4 separate regions of the Homo sapiens genome follow, and regions 1, 2 and 4 are each linked to region 3. The links are contacts of gene promoters, found by promoter capture Hi-C in blood cells and fetal thymus (Javierre and others, 2016). All regions are on one chromosome and are shown on one strand. The core of a region is centred on a gene start or on the middle of the fragment in contact, and the rest is flanking DNA. Distances in the headings are between cores, read along the strand shown.

Evidence for each region. Contacts are between HindIII fragments. The CHiCAGO score rates a contact against its expected background, and 5 or more counts as called.
Region 1: a contact is called between a fragment that was not itself captured here and the fragment with the promoter of SMIM23 in region 3, in 1 of 17 cell types (M0 macrophages). The highest score is 5.0, in M0 macrophages.
Region 2: a contact is called between a fragment that was not itself captured here and the fragment with the promoter of SMIM23 in region 3, in 4 of 17 cell types (M1 macrophages, M2 macrophages, endothelial precursors and 1 more). The highest score is 6.2, in M1 macrophages.
Region 4: a contact is called between a fragment that was not itself captured here and the fragment with the promoter of SMIM23 in region 3, in 3 of 17 cell types (M1 macrophages, M0 macrophages and endothelial precursors). The highest score is 7.0, in M1 macrophages.

Annotation. Positions count from the first base shown.
Region 1 is chr5:171,449,412-171,452,111 of GRCh38, reverse strand. The region is part of intron 4 of FGF18 (fibroblast growth factor 18); the gene reads right to left. Among named protein-coding and RNA genes, the nearest start is that of FGF18, 31 kb to the right of the region's middle. RefSeq lists an enhancer at 578-1,149. The HindIII fragment of the contact is 7,697 bases long and covers 1-2,700 here.
Region 2 is chr5:171,470,477-171,473,176 of GRCh38, reverse strand. All of the region lies in intron 2 of LOC105377721 (a long non-coding RNA gene), which reads left to right. Among named protein-coding and RNA genes, the nearest start is that of FGF18, 52 kb to the right of the region's middle. The HindIII fragment of the contact is 1,140 bases long and covers 795-1,934 here.
Region 3 is chr5:171,784,458-171,787,157 of GRCh38, reverse strand. It overlaps SMIM23 (small integral membrane protein 23), which reads right to left and starts at 1,341. Exons shown (of 4, transcript NM_001289970.2): 1 at 1,182-1,341. The coding sequence starts at 1,286. The HindIII fragment of the contact is 8,257 bases long and covers 1-2,700 here.
Region 4 is chr5:171,432,131-171,434,830 of GRCh38, reverse strand. The region is part of intron 2 of FGF18 (fibroblast growth factor 18); the gene reads right to left. Among named protein-coding and RNA genes, the nearest start is that of FGF18, 14 kb to the right of the region's middle. RefSeq lists an enhancer at 57-592. The HindIII fragment of the contact is 4,550 bases long and covers 1-2,700 here.

The sequences.
Region 1 (2,700 bases), core at 78-2,577, 340 kb after region 3:
TAGCTTAAGAGTCAATCCACAGACAGCAGGAACCATGTTTCTATTTCTTTGGTGCCCCCGGAGCCCTTTGGCCAGGTACACAGAACTCAGATGAATGGATGCAGAATCCGCCCTCAGGGAGTTCCCAGTGTGACAGAGGATGCAGGCACAAAGACAAACAGTGACAACCCAGGTTAGCAGACAGGCAACAGAGGGCTGTGCGAGGGACTGTGGGGCTCCGGGGTGGGTGGGCTGACAGAGGGGTCAGGGAATGACCAGCCAGGACTCAGGGCAAGTGGACAGAGGGAAGGGCAGTCCCGGCAGAGGGCACAGCATGGACAGTGCCCGAAGGCCCCGTCCATGGAACAGCGGTGCTCAGTGCCACGCATCTGGAGCATAAGGAATCCATGTGCCCGGGGAGGCTCCCCAGGGCCTTCGGTGTCCCATAGCAAGGTGGGAGGACCCATGGATGGGTTTGGAGCTGGGTGGGGGTGGAGGGCAGGTCATGTGCCGCCCTCCAATGCCGTATGTGCTGTAGAAAGCCGAAGGTGGGCAGCGGGGAAAGGCCTGGAGATGCAGAAGCCACACGCCAGGCGGCTGGGGCAACGATTTCCGGGATGGTAGGAGGCCAGAACAGAGGCGGTGGCAGGGGTTAGGGCAGGAGGGGACACCCAGGGCCTAAGGTACGACTGGGCAGGGAGGCTGTGGAGAGGACCGCAGCCCAGGAGCCAGATTCCCGCCTCGGGGGCCAGAGAGCGAGGGGGCGCTGGGCGGGGCAGAGGTCAAGCCTGGACAGGTGGATTTGGTGGCGTCCTCGAGTCCCCCGGGTGGGCCCAGAAGACAGGAGGCTGGCAAGGGTTGGGGTCGGGCGTGGAGGCCTGGGCGGGAGCGGGGGAGGCGCCGGGGGCCGGGGCCGGGCCTCCCTCCGCTGCGCCAGGGTGCGCCGCGCCAGCTGAACCGTCACCAATATTAATGACGGGAGAGAGGGCGAGGGGGCAGGAAATCGGAGCCGGCTCCTGTGGAAGCGGTGACTCAGCGGCTCGCCCGCGGGCGGGAGGCGGCCGGCGGCGGGGTGGGGGGGCGGCCCGAGGGGACGGGGCTGCTCTTTTGACCCCCGCGCAGCCCTCCTGGGGTCAAGATGCCGGGAACAGCACGCAGACGGCGAGGGCGGGCCGCGGCGTGGGCACGGGCACTGGCGGGTGCCGCTGGCCCCTGCTGGGGGAGAAAGAAAAACGAGCCGAAAACTCAAAGCAGGTTGGGCCTGGGAGGCGGCCCAGGCGGGCAGGAGAACAAAGCGCCTGACGCGGGGCTGGGCCGCGCCGCCACAGGAAACGACCGGCCAGGCCAGGGGGACCGGCCAGGCTAGGGGGACCCGGCGCCCGCGCCCCAGTCCGTGGCCCCGGCCCCGGCCCCGACCCCCCTCGCCGGCCGGCCAGCCTCGCAACGGCGGAAAGTGAATCACTAATTAAAACCACTCCTCGGCATCCCGGAGCCGCGCTCTGCGGATTACTATTATTTTGCTCTTTGAGAAGCCTCAGTTGGTGTGGGCAGTGCGGCTGGAATCTTTTCCTTCCAAACCGGGCTTTGAATCCCGCCGAGCTGTAGTGTGGGACCTGGGACAAGTGCCCGGGCGTGGCCAAGCCTCGGCTTCCTCATCTGTGGAATGGGGATGGTAGCGGTGGCAGCCTCCTGGGATTCACTGGGAGCGTTTCAGTTCAGTGCCGGGCAGAAAGTCAGTGCTCAATTAGCGGAAGCTATTATGACAGTAATTATTAACAAAATAATGCGACAATGCCCTGGCTGGGATCTCTGGCCTGTTACATCCTCCCCAGCCTCTTGGTATGGGGGAAAGGGAGAGGGATAAGACTTGGGGGATTCAAAAAATCAAAAACATGGCTTCAGCAAGACTGAAGTCATCTCCCCCACCCCCAACAAGATGTAATGAACCGCAAATAATCAGCCAGGGCATTGCCCCCAAGCACAAGCCCATCCCCCTTAGAATCCAGGCCTACCCTCCACCCCACTCCACCTGTCCAGGCAAAACCCCCTCAACCCTGGTTGTACAAACTGCATATGGGAGTCAGTCCCTGCAGAGAGAAGGGGACAGAGAACCTGACCCTACCATAGAGCTCCTGTGGATAACACCTTCCATTGGAACACCCAGAGGAAGCCAGTTCATGACTTTTGCAAACAAGCGCACCCAGGAAACGAACAGGGGTGCTGAGAAGCAGCATCATTGGAGACTCAGATCCCCACACACGTGGGTCTCCCCAACCCGAGGGTCCCCCCAACCTGCACCCCCACTCCTGCCCCCACCCTAATTTGTTAAATGCAGCTCTCTTGCCAGTTTCAAAGTAATAAAATCTTTCTGAAATGCTAGAACCAAGAGGCCCAGCGCTGACGAGGCGGCCAGGTTCCAGAGGTCACTGCTGCAGGACGGTAAGCCCCTGGCAATTGTTAAAACGATCGATGCAGCCACAGCCCTTGGCCTGCCGGTTCCTTGCTCCCAGACGTCAGGGACATGTAGCCGGGGTGCCCCAGAGCCCCTCAAGGATTCTCCCACTACCAAGCAAGCCAGAGCTCCACACCCAACAGGAGAGACACAGCCATGGATACCTCAGCCTGGTGAGTTCAAGTGCCCGGGGAAGAGAAGTGGGGGATGGGATGGGGTGAAAGGAAGAGATTACAGTCTCTCTCTCTCTCTCCTGTCTCTCTCTCTCT
Region 2 (2,700 bases), core at 115-2,614, 310 kb after region 3:
CTGGAGTACAGTGGCACAGTCTTGGCTCACTGCAACCTCTGCCTCCCGGGTTCAAGAAATTGTCCTGCCTCAGACCCCCAAGTAGCTGGGACTACAGATGCCCGCCACCACACCCAGCTAATTTTTGTCTTTTTAATAGAGACGGGGTTCGCCATGTTGGCCAGGCTGGTCTTGAACTCCTGACCTCAAAACAGTGGGATTACAGGTGTGAGCCAATGCACCCGGCTGTGATAATTTTTTGAGTCACATGATGCACATGTTTCCAGCTAAGGTCAAACAAGGCAATGCCCTTCTTCTTGTTCAGCTCTCTTTTTATAAACAAGCATCCTTTTCAAGGTCCATTTAGTGCCACATTTTTATCTGGAGAAGCTTCGTCCGGTAGTTACGGTGCTGCTGACCATGCGTTGAGTGTCAATGAATCAACAATATATATTAAATAAAGTGTTTAAACAGAAACACACATACAACAAGGTATGTGTTGATCCATGGATGAAAATGCTGTGACCAGAAGCTCACAGGAACCTAACCTGTGGTTCCTCTGGGAGCAATAGGTTGGTGTTCACTAGTTTCATTTGTGGCAACTTTACAGAACATAACTACCACCAGAAATGAGAATCAACTATATCTCCTGTTTCTCCTTCTCTTGGCCTGCTTCCTTCTCTCCAACTCAATGTCCATAGTAGGGCAAGGAACAGGTCGCCCACAGCTGTGCCTCATAGCCTCTGCCACCAGAGAGGGGCTTTTCATGTTTGAAAAATCCGGGACCAATCAACTACGGTGGGAGTGGGGAAGCTTGCACATATACAGGGTGTCTCCCAGTGAAACTATATAAAATTCAGGAGCACCAGTTCCTAAAAGAACAGAAGACTGCTCTCATATGCCTGGAAAAAAGACTGAGCAGACAAACATGTCACTCATTCACACATACACACACACATGCACATATTTACTTAATTCTCATTGCACAAGTTTTACTATATCCACATACCACCTGTAACATTACCACCTAGTTTTCCTTAAATTAACTCTTTATTTATTTGCTTAAATGTATTTAAAAAGAAAATTTATATTTCTATCATATATAGAAATTGATCATCAAAATAAACTTGTAACGTTAAAATAAAAAGCAAATGTTAGTCCAGAAGCCATCTGAAATTCTTTCGCCTGAAATTGACCATATGTTTAGAAACATAGGTTTATGTTTTAGTCTCTGTCTCTGAACTGGGAGCTCTGTTCCAAGGAACCATCTCTCATTCACTGCAGCTCAGCACAGGACTGGCACGTATGAGCACTCAATAAACATTTTATGTCTAAGCTCAGGCTTCTGCCACCTGCATCTTCCTCTTAGGTACATTGGAGAGGACACCGGTTGAAGAAGAGGAGCCCCTCAAGAGGAATGAAGGGGCCGGGTGAGATAGCTCATGCCTGTATTCCTAGCACTTTGGGAGGCCTAGGTGGGAGGATCGCTTGAGTCCAGAAGTTTGAGACCGGCTTGGGCAACATAGTGAGACCCTGTTTCTACAAAAATAAAAATTAAGAATTAGCTCAGCTGGTGGTGTTCATCTGTAGTCCCACCTACTTGGGAAGCTGAGGTGGAAGGATTACTTGAGCCCGGGAGGTTGAGGCTGCAGTGAGCCATGATTGTGCCATTGCACTCCAGCCTGGGCAACAAAGACCCTCCTCCAAATAAAGGAGGAATGAATGGATAGAGAGAGGCAAAGAGGGAATGGAAAGGGGGTGCGCCTAATGGGCTGAGCCCTATCTGGCCTCTTCTTAGAACTACACCTGCCACGGACCTACTGCCCTCCCATGTACTTTTCCTGTTTCCTCAACATCTTTGTCTGGACTGTATCCCCTTCCTAAAAAGCTCTCTCTTTTCTCTCCAAGACTCATTCTTCAAATACTACCTCCTCTTCTGTATCAGTTGGGAAGCTTTTAGCAACACGTAACAAAAAACCCAGCTGCAAGAGACTTAACTACAAAAAAGTTTTGTTATCTGAGACAATGAGAAGACCCCATATGGCTTAATTCGGCAGTGGAACAATATCATCGAGAACTCAAGCTCGTTCCATCACTTTGCTCTGCCATCCTCAGTGCAGCAGCTAGCTTTCCTCATGGTCTCAAGATAGCTACAACAGCTCCAGCCCTCACATCCTCACCAAAATGCAGACTCAAAAAAGGAATCATGACTTCCTTGTGTCTGTTTTTAAGAATCATGAAGCCAGGCATGGTGGCTCGCGCCTGTAATCCCAGCACTTTGGGAGGCTGAGGCAGGTGGATCGTTGAGCTCAGTAGTTAAAGACCAGCCTGGGTAACATGGCAAAACCTCATCTCTACAACAAATATAAAAAAATTAGCGGAGCATGGTGTGCTTGAGCCCAGGAGGTCGAGGATGCAGTGAGCTGAGATCACGCCACTGCACTCCAGCCTGGCTGACAAAGTGAAACCCTTCTCAAAAAAAAAAAAAAAAAAAGAATCATAAAACTTCTCTAGAAACATGCTCCACCTCCAACACCACCCCACGGACCCTAATAGTTCATTGGCCAGAACATGATCACATGCCGCGTCTGAAGCCAGTTATTGGCACAGGGGATGCAGTTAGCGTGATGGGCTATAATGAATCAAGACTCACCCGTTGTTTGGGAGGCCGAGGCAGGAGGATCACATGAGCCCAGGGTTTGAGACTAGCCTGGGCGGCAA
Region 3 (2,700 bases), core at 92-2,591:
GTCCCAGCTGCTCGGGAGGCTGAGGCAGTAGAATCACTTGAACCCAGGAGGAGGAGGTTGCAGTGAGCCAAGATCGCACTGTTGTACTCCAGCCTGGTGACAGAGCGAGGCTCCGTCTCAGAAAAAAAAAAAAAAAAAAAAAAAAAAAAAAAAGGAAACAATGGGACTCTGGTAGAATCAAGGTGGGAAATGCTGTGGTAAACAAAGCTATGCAGACTTCTTTGTTGCAGGACTTCTCAGAGCCTTCCTTACGTGAATGAGCAGCGTCAGTCTTCAGGAGGGGATGCGGGTATGCAGCCTTCCCCAAGCCACAGAATTCTGTAAAGAATGTTTCTAAAAGGAGCATTCCTGGGGTCTGGTGTCTATGGAACACTTTTTAGGAAAAGCCGCAGCATGATGGGTGCCCATGAAGGCCCCTGTTATACGCTACAAGGTCCAGCATATAGAAGGCGCTCGGTGCATGTATAGTAAATTAATGAGTGAACAAGTCTTTTGAAAACAGAGACAGCAGAGCTCATTCATTCATTGCTCTGCTTAAAACCCGTCAACAGCTTCTTCTTATCCTCAGAATAAACCCTTGCTCAGGGTTCTCATAGCAGATGAACCTGGTTTCAGGGAGTTCTAAAATCAGATGGATGTGTTTTCAAATCCTGATATGTCCCAGTTGTACGGCCCTTTTGCCTTTCTGGGCCTCAGATTACCCTCTGTGAACGAGGTTGATAGCATCTAAGAGATGGGGTGTGGATGCACCAGGCTGTGTGCAGCAAGCATTAATGTTTTCCATTTTGACGAAATCCCACATGAGTTTTGAATTTCAGCCCTGAGAATGAATCCTCCAGGAGCGCTCCAATTCAGGAGTATTATCAGTTCATTCGTTCATTCAGCATCTACTTGGCACCAAGCACCATGCTAGGCACTAGGGATTCAGCAGGGAACTAAACAAAAAGCCCAGTCCTCCTGGAACATACCTTCTGCTGGCAGTGCTGAGAATTTAATAAGACAGTGTCAGTGATGGCCCCGGCAAGAAGTGCCTAGGCCCCTAAACTGTGCTCCATCAGAGTGGGATCCAGGGACGGTTGGGTCCAAGATTCATTCCGGGCTTTGAGGGACTTCTAGTCTGTCTGGAGTGGCAAAAGGAGCCCAGATGGGAGGAAAGCAGCATGTACCTGGCCTGGCCTCACCTGCTTCTCGTCATCACAGTGGCTGCCCCTTCTCCGTTCAAGCAGCTGGGCTGCCACCTGCTCTGCTGCCACCTGCCTTCTGCTGTCCACTTGCTGGGTTGCCATGGCCTCAGATCTGGCTGCCTGGGTGGACCACACTCAACAGACAGAAGGGCACCCTTCCCCTCCCCCACCTGTGGTCACCAGGCATCCTGCAAACATTGAGTTCTGATGTCACAGAAGGTAGGGACAGCAAGGTTCCCACCTTTCCACCACCCTGATTTTTAGTCCCTTCCCTCATTTTTATTTTTCACATGAGTGTAGAAAACAAAGATCAGGAAGAAATGCATCAAAAGATTATGTTTCAGGATGATGATTTTTCTGATTATTTTCTTCTATATTTGCAAGTTTTTAATAAAAATGCTAATTCTAAAATATAAAAACAATAGTTTGGGTGCAGTGGCTCACACCTGTAATCCCTAGCACTTTGGGAGGCTGAGGCTGGAGGATTGCTTGAGTCCAGAAGTTTGAGACTAGCCTGGGCAACATGGTGAGACCATGTCTCTATTTTTAAAAAATTACAAAAAAAAAAAAAACAATAAAAGCTATTTTTAATTGAAAAATGTATGGAGATAATTGTGGATTCACATGCAGTTGTAAGAAACAATACAGAGAGATCCTGTGTACCCTCTATGAATTTTTCCCCCAGTGGTACAGTAATATCCTGCCTCACTGCAGTAGGAGATCACAGCCTGGATGTGGACATTGATACACTCTACCAATCTTACGCAGACTTCCCCAGTGTTACTTGTTCTCATTTGTGTGTGTGTGTGTGTGTGTTTAATTCTAAACAATTTTGTGTAGGTTTGCTTACTTAGGACAATAGTCAAGACACAGAAGAGTTTCAAAACTACAAGGGGCTTTGTGCTGCTTCGTGATGGCTGCTGCCTCCCGACCCCACCCACACTGTCCTTAACTCCTGGAAATCACTCATCTGCTCTCTCTTTCTAAAATTTGTTTATTCCAAATGCTACATAAATGGAATGAAACAGTATTTAACCTTTGGGGATTGGCTTTAAAAAAAAACATAGTATAATTCCCTGGAAATTCATCCAATTTGTTGCATGTATCAGTAGTTCATTCTTTTTGACTGCTGTGTAGTATTTTGTGATATGTGTATGCCATAATGAAGGACACGTTCCAAACCTGTTCAAAACCCAGCTGCCTCCAGTTTTTGACTCTTGCGAGTAAAGGTGATATGAACATGCTTGTACATGTTTTTGGGTAAACGTAAGTTTCATTTGTCTGGGATAAATGCCTGAGAGTGCAGTTGCTGGGCCATAGCATCATGGCATGATAGTTTTATAAGAAATTGTCAAACTGTTTTCCAGAATGGCTGTGCCATTGTACATTCTCATTAACAGTGTATGAGTGATTTGGTTTCTCCTCATCCCCACCAATATCTGTTTACACTATTTGTTCTTTTTTTTTTTGAGACAGAGTCTCACTCTGTCGCCCAAGCTGGAGTGCAGTGGCACGA
Region 4 (2,700 bases), core at 32-2,531, 350 kb after region 3:
CCATCAAAAAAAAAAAAAAAAGGGAGAGAAAGCTGGAGCAGTGTCTCTCATTTGCCACTATATCCGCAGCACCTAACACGGTAGAAACTCAAACGCTTCTTGAATGGATACATAAACAAATGTTGAAAAGACCTGGAGTCCTGCTGTGCCATTTACCATTGGAGCAGGGTCCCCTACACCCTGCTGGTTGTATGCATGTCCTATCCCATGTCAACCACAAGGCTGAGCCATTCCTGAAGCCCAGACAGCATTCTGGGTTTGTTCCCTGTGTGCCCACAAAGTCTATCACAATGCTAGGCACAAGGGACCCCCATTCCCACGCTGGCACGCCCCCACTCAGCCCATGGCAGAGCTCTTGGGACCCTGGCTGCCCAAACATCTGTCTCACCTCTCAGCTGTGAGCTCCCAAGGGCAGGGATGTGTTTCCTTCATTTGCTACAGCAGGATCTCTGTCCCCAAGCTGACCTGCATGTATCTCCCGATCCTGGACTGGGCCCACAGGTATGTCAGCAGGACCACATTGTTGAACCTTCATGATTGTCCTCAGGGTGGAAGCATCATCCCACATTATGGATGAGGAAACTGTCAGCTCCACTGACAAGGCCCCAGAGCAGTAATGCAGAATTAACCCCAGGCCTTGTGACCCTAAAGACTGTGTTTCCTGTGCCCCACCCCTGCGGGCAGCCCCAGGCCACTGCCTTGCGGGGCCCTGCCTGCCCCACCAGTGCTGTCAGGAGCTGGCCCTGGGTTCAAAACCCAGGATGTGCCACTCTCTAGCTAAGGGACCTTATGCAAGTTATTAAACTCTAGTGCCTGTTTCCTCACCTATAAAATAGGGTGATGATAACAGCACCCTCCTCATGAGTGGCTGCAAAGGTTAAACATATAAAGCAATATATTAAGTGCTCAGAGCAGTGCCTGGCTCAGTAGGGGTAACTAGTGATAGAACACAAGGGAACCCTTTATGGGGCCCTAGGTGAAGCCCTGCAAACCAGATTTATATCTGGGAAGATGCTATTGCTTTTGATAGTCCTGACAACCTTGCACCATGAGAACGCTTATCACCCTCATTGAATGGATGGAGACACTAAGGCCCAGAAAAGTTAAGTCCATTGCTCCAAACCACACAGCCCAGTGAGGCAGGGCCTGGCCTGCTGGCCCACCATGTGTGCCTCCTCTTCACTTCCCCCAGCCCTCAGCAGCCACACACAGTCACCACTCACAGCCCGGGTCTGATACCTGGGTCCCGCCTCCTTCCACATCCTGCTGCTCAGGGACAGAAGAACTCCAGTGCTCCTGAGGCCCACACCTGGTGGGCATTTGTCCGGAAGACTCCCCACCCATGGCCTTTGACCTTCCTGGAATGACTTCCGGAGGTGGCTGGCCCTGTCCCCTCCCCCAAGGGCAGGCCTCTGGCGTCCCCTCCCTGTCCTTCTACTCTCCTCCTGCTCACAGGAGACCTTATCGACCAGAGGTCAAACCAATCTCCTTCCCCCAGGTCCCCAAGGGGAGCTGCCCTGCCCCAGAAGCCGGCCTCCCATTAATGATTTTCTCCCTGGCCCACTGGACAGAGGCAGTGTGGGTGACCCAGGGTCAGCAGGGGCTATCGGGTGGCACTTCCCCAGGATGCGGGAGGGAACAATCCATCTTGCCCAGCTCCCACCATTGAAGCCCCATTCTGTGGCCAGATCAGCCCCCAGGGAGGTGGCGGGGGTGGCCTCTGGTGGCCTCTGGCTCGGAAACAAGGTCTGTTCTCCTGGAAAGGCAGGAAGCACCCCGGGCTTCCCAGGCAAGACCTCTGGAGGGTGTGACACGTCCTACCCCGAAGCCTTTCCTAGCCCCACCTCCCAGGCTGGGTGAGGGCCCCCGAACACTCTACTGCAATGGCTTATTGTCCCAAGTCCAGTGTGACTGGTTCATCCCTGAATCTCACCTCTGCCCTCAGAAGGCAACCAGCAAACGCATGCCAAAAGGCGGCGGCCAAAAGTGAGGGAAATCTGGAGGCCAACATCAGCCCTCCCACTTACCAACCAGAGTGCCCCACAGAGGGATGTGTTAAGGCAACTGACTACCCAGCATTCCCCTGTTCCAGACACTCTGCTAAGAAGACCCCTAGGCTGGTCGCAGTGGCTCAGCACTTTGGAAGGCCGAGGTGGGCGGATCGCTTGAGGCCAGGAGTTCAAGACCAGCTTGAGGCCAGGAGTTCAAGACCATCTTAACATACTGAAACCCTGTCTCTACTGAAAATACAAAAATTAGCCAGGTGTGGTGGTGCATGCCTGTAATCCCAGCTACTCAGGAGGCTGAGGCCGGAGAATCACTTGAAACTGGGAGGCAGAGGTTGCCATGAGCCGAGATTGCACCACTGCACTCCAGCCTGGGTGATAGAGTGAGAATCTGTCTGAAATAAATAAATAAATGAATAAATAAGTAAATATAATTTTTATAAAAAAGAAGAAGAAGAAGAAGAAAATGACCCCCAGACATGGCACCTCAGCGACCCGTGGAGGTGAGCACCAGTTAAAGCCCATTTCAAGGTCTGCTGCCAGAGCACATGCATAGCGGGGCTGCCTCGGGAACATCCACTTCTCCTGTCCTACTAGCTGCGTGGCAGGTCACTTGGCTCGGTGCCCTGCAAGGGGGGCCTATCTTCAAGGTCTTCCCAGAACAGTCAATTTTGCTGTCGGCCTGGCTAACACC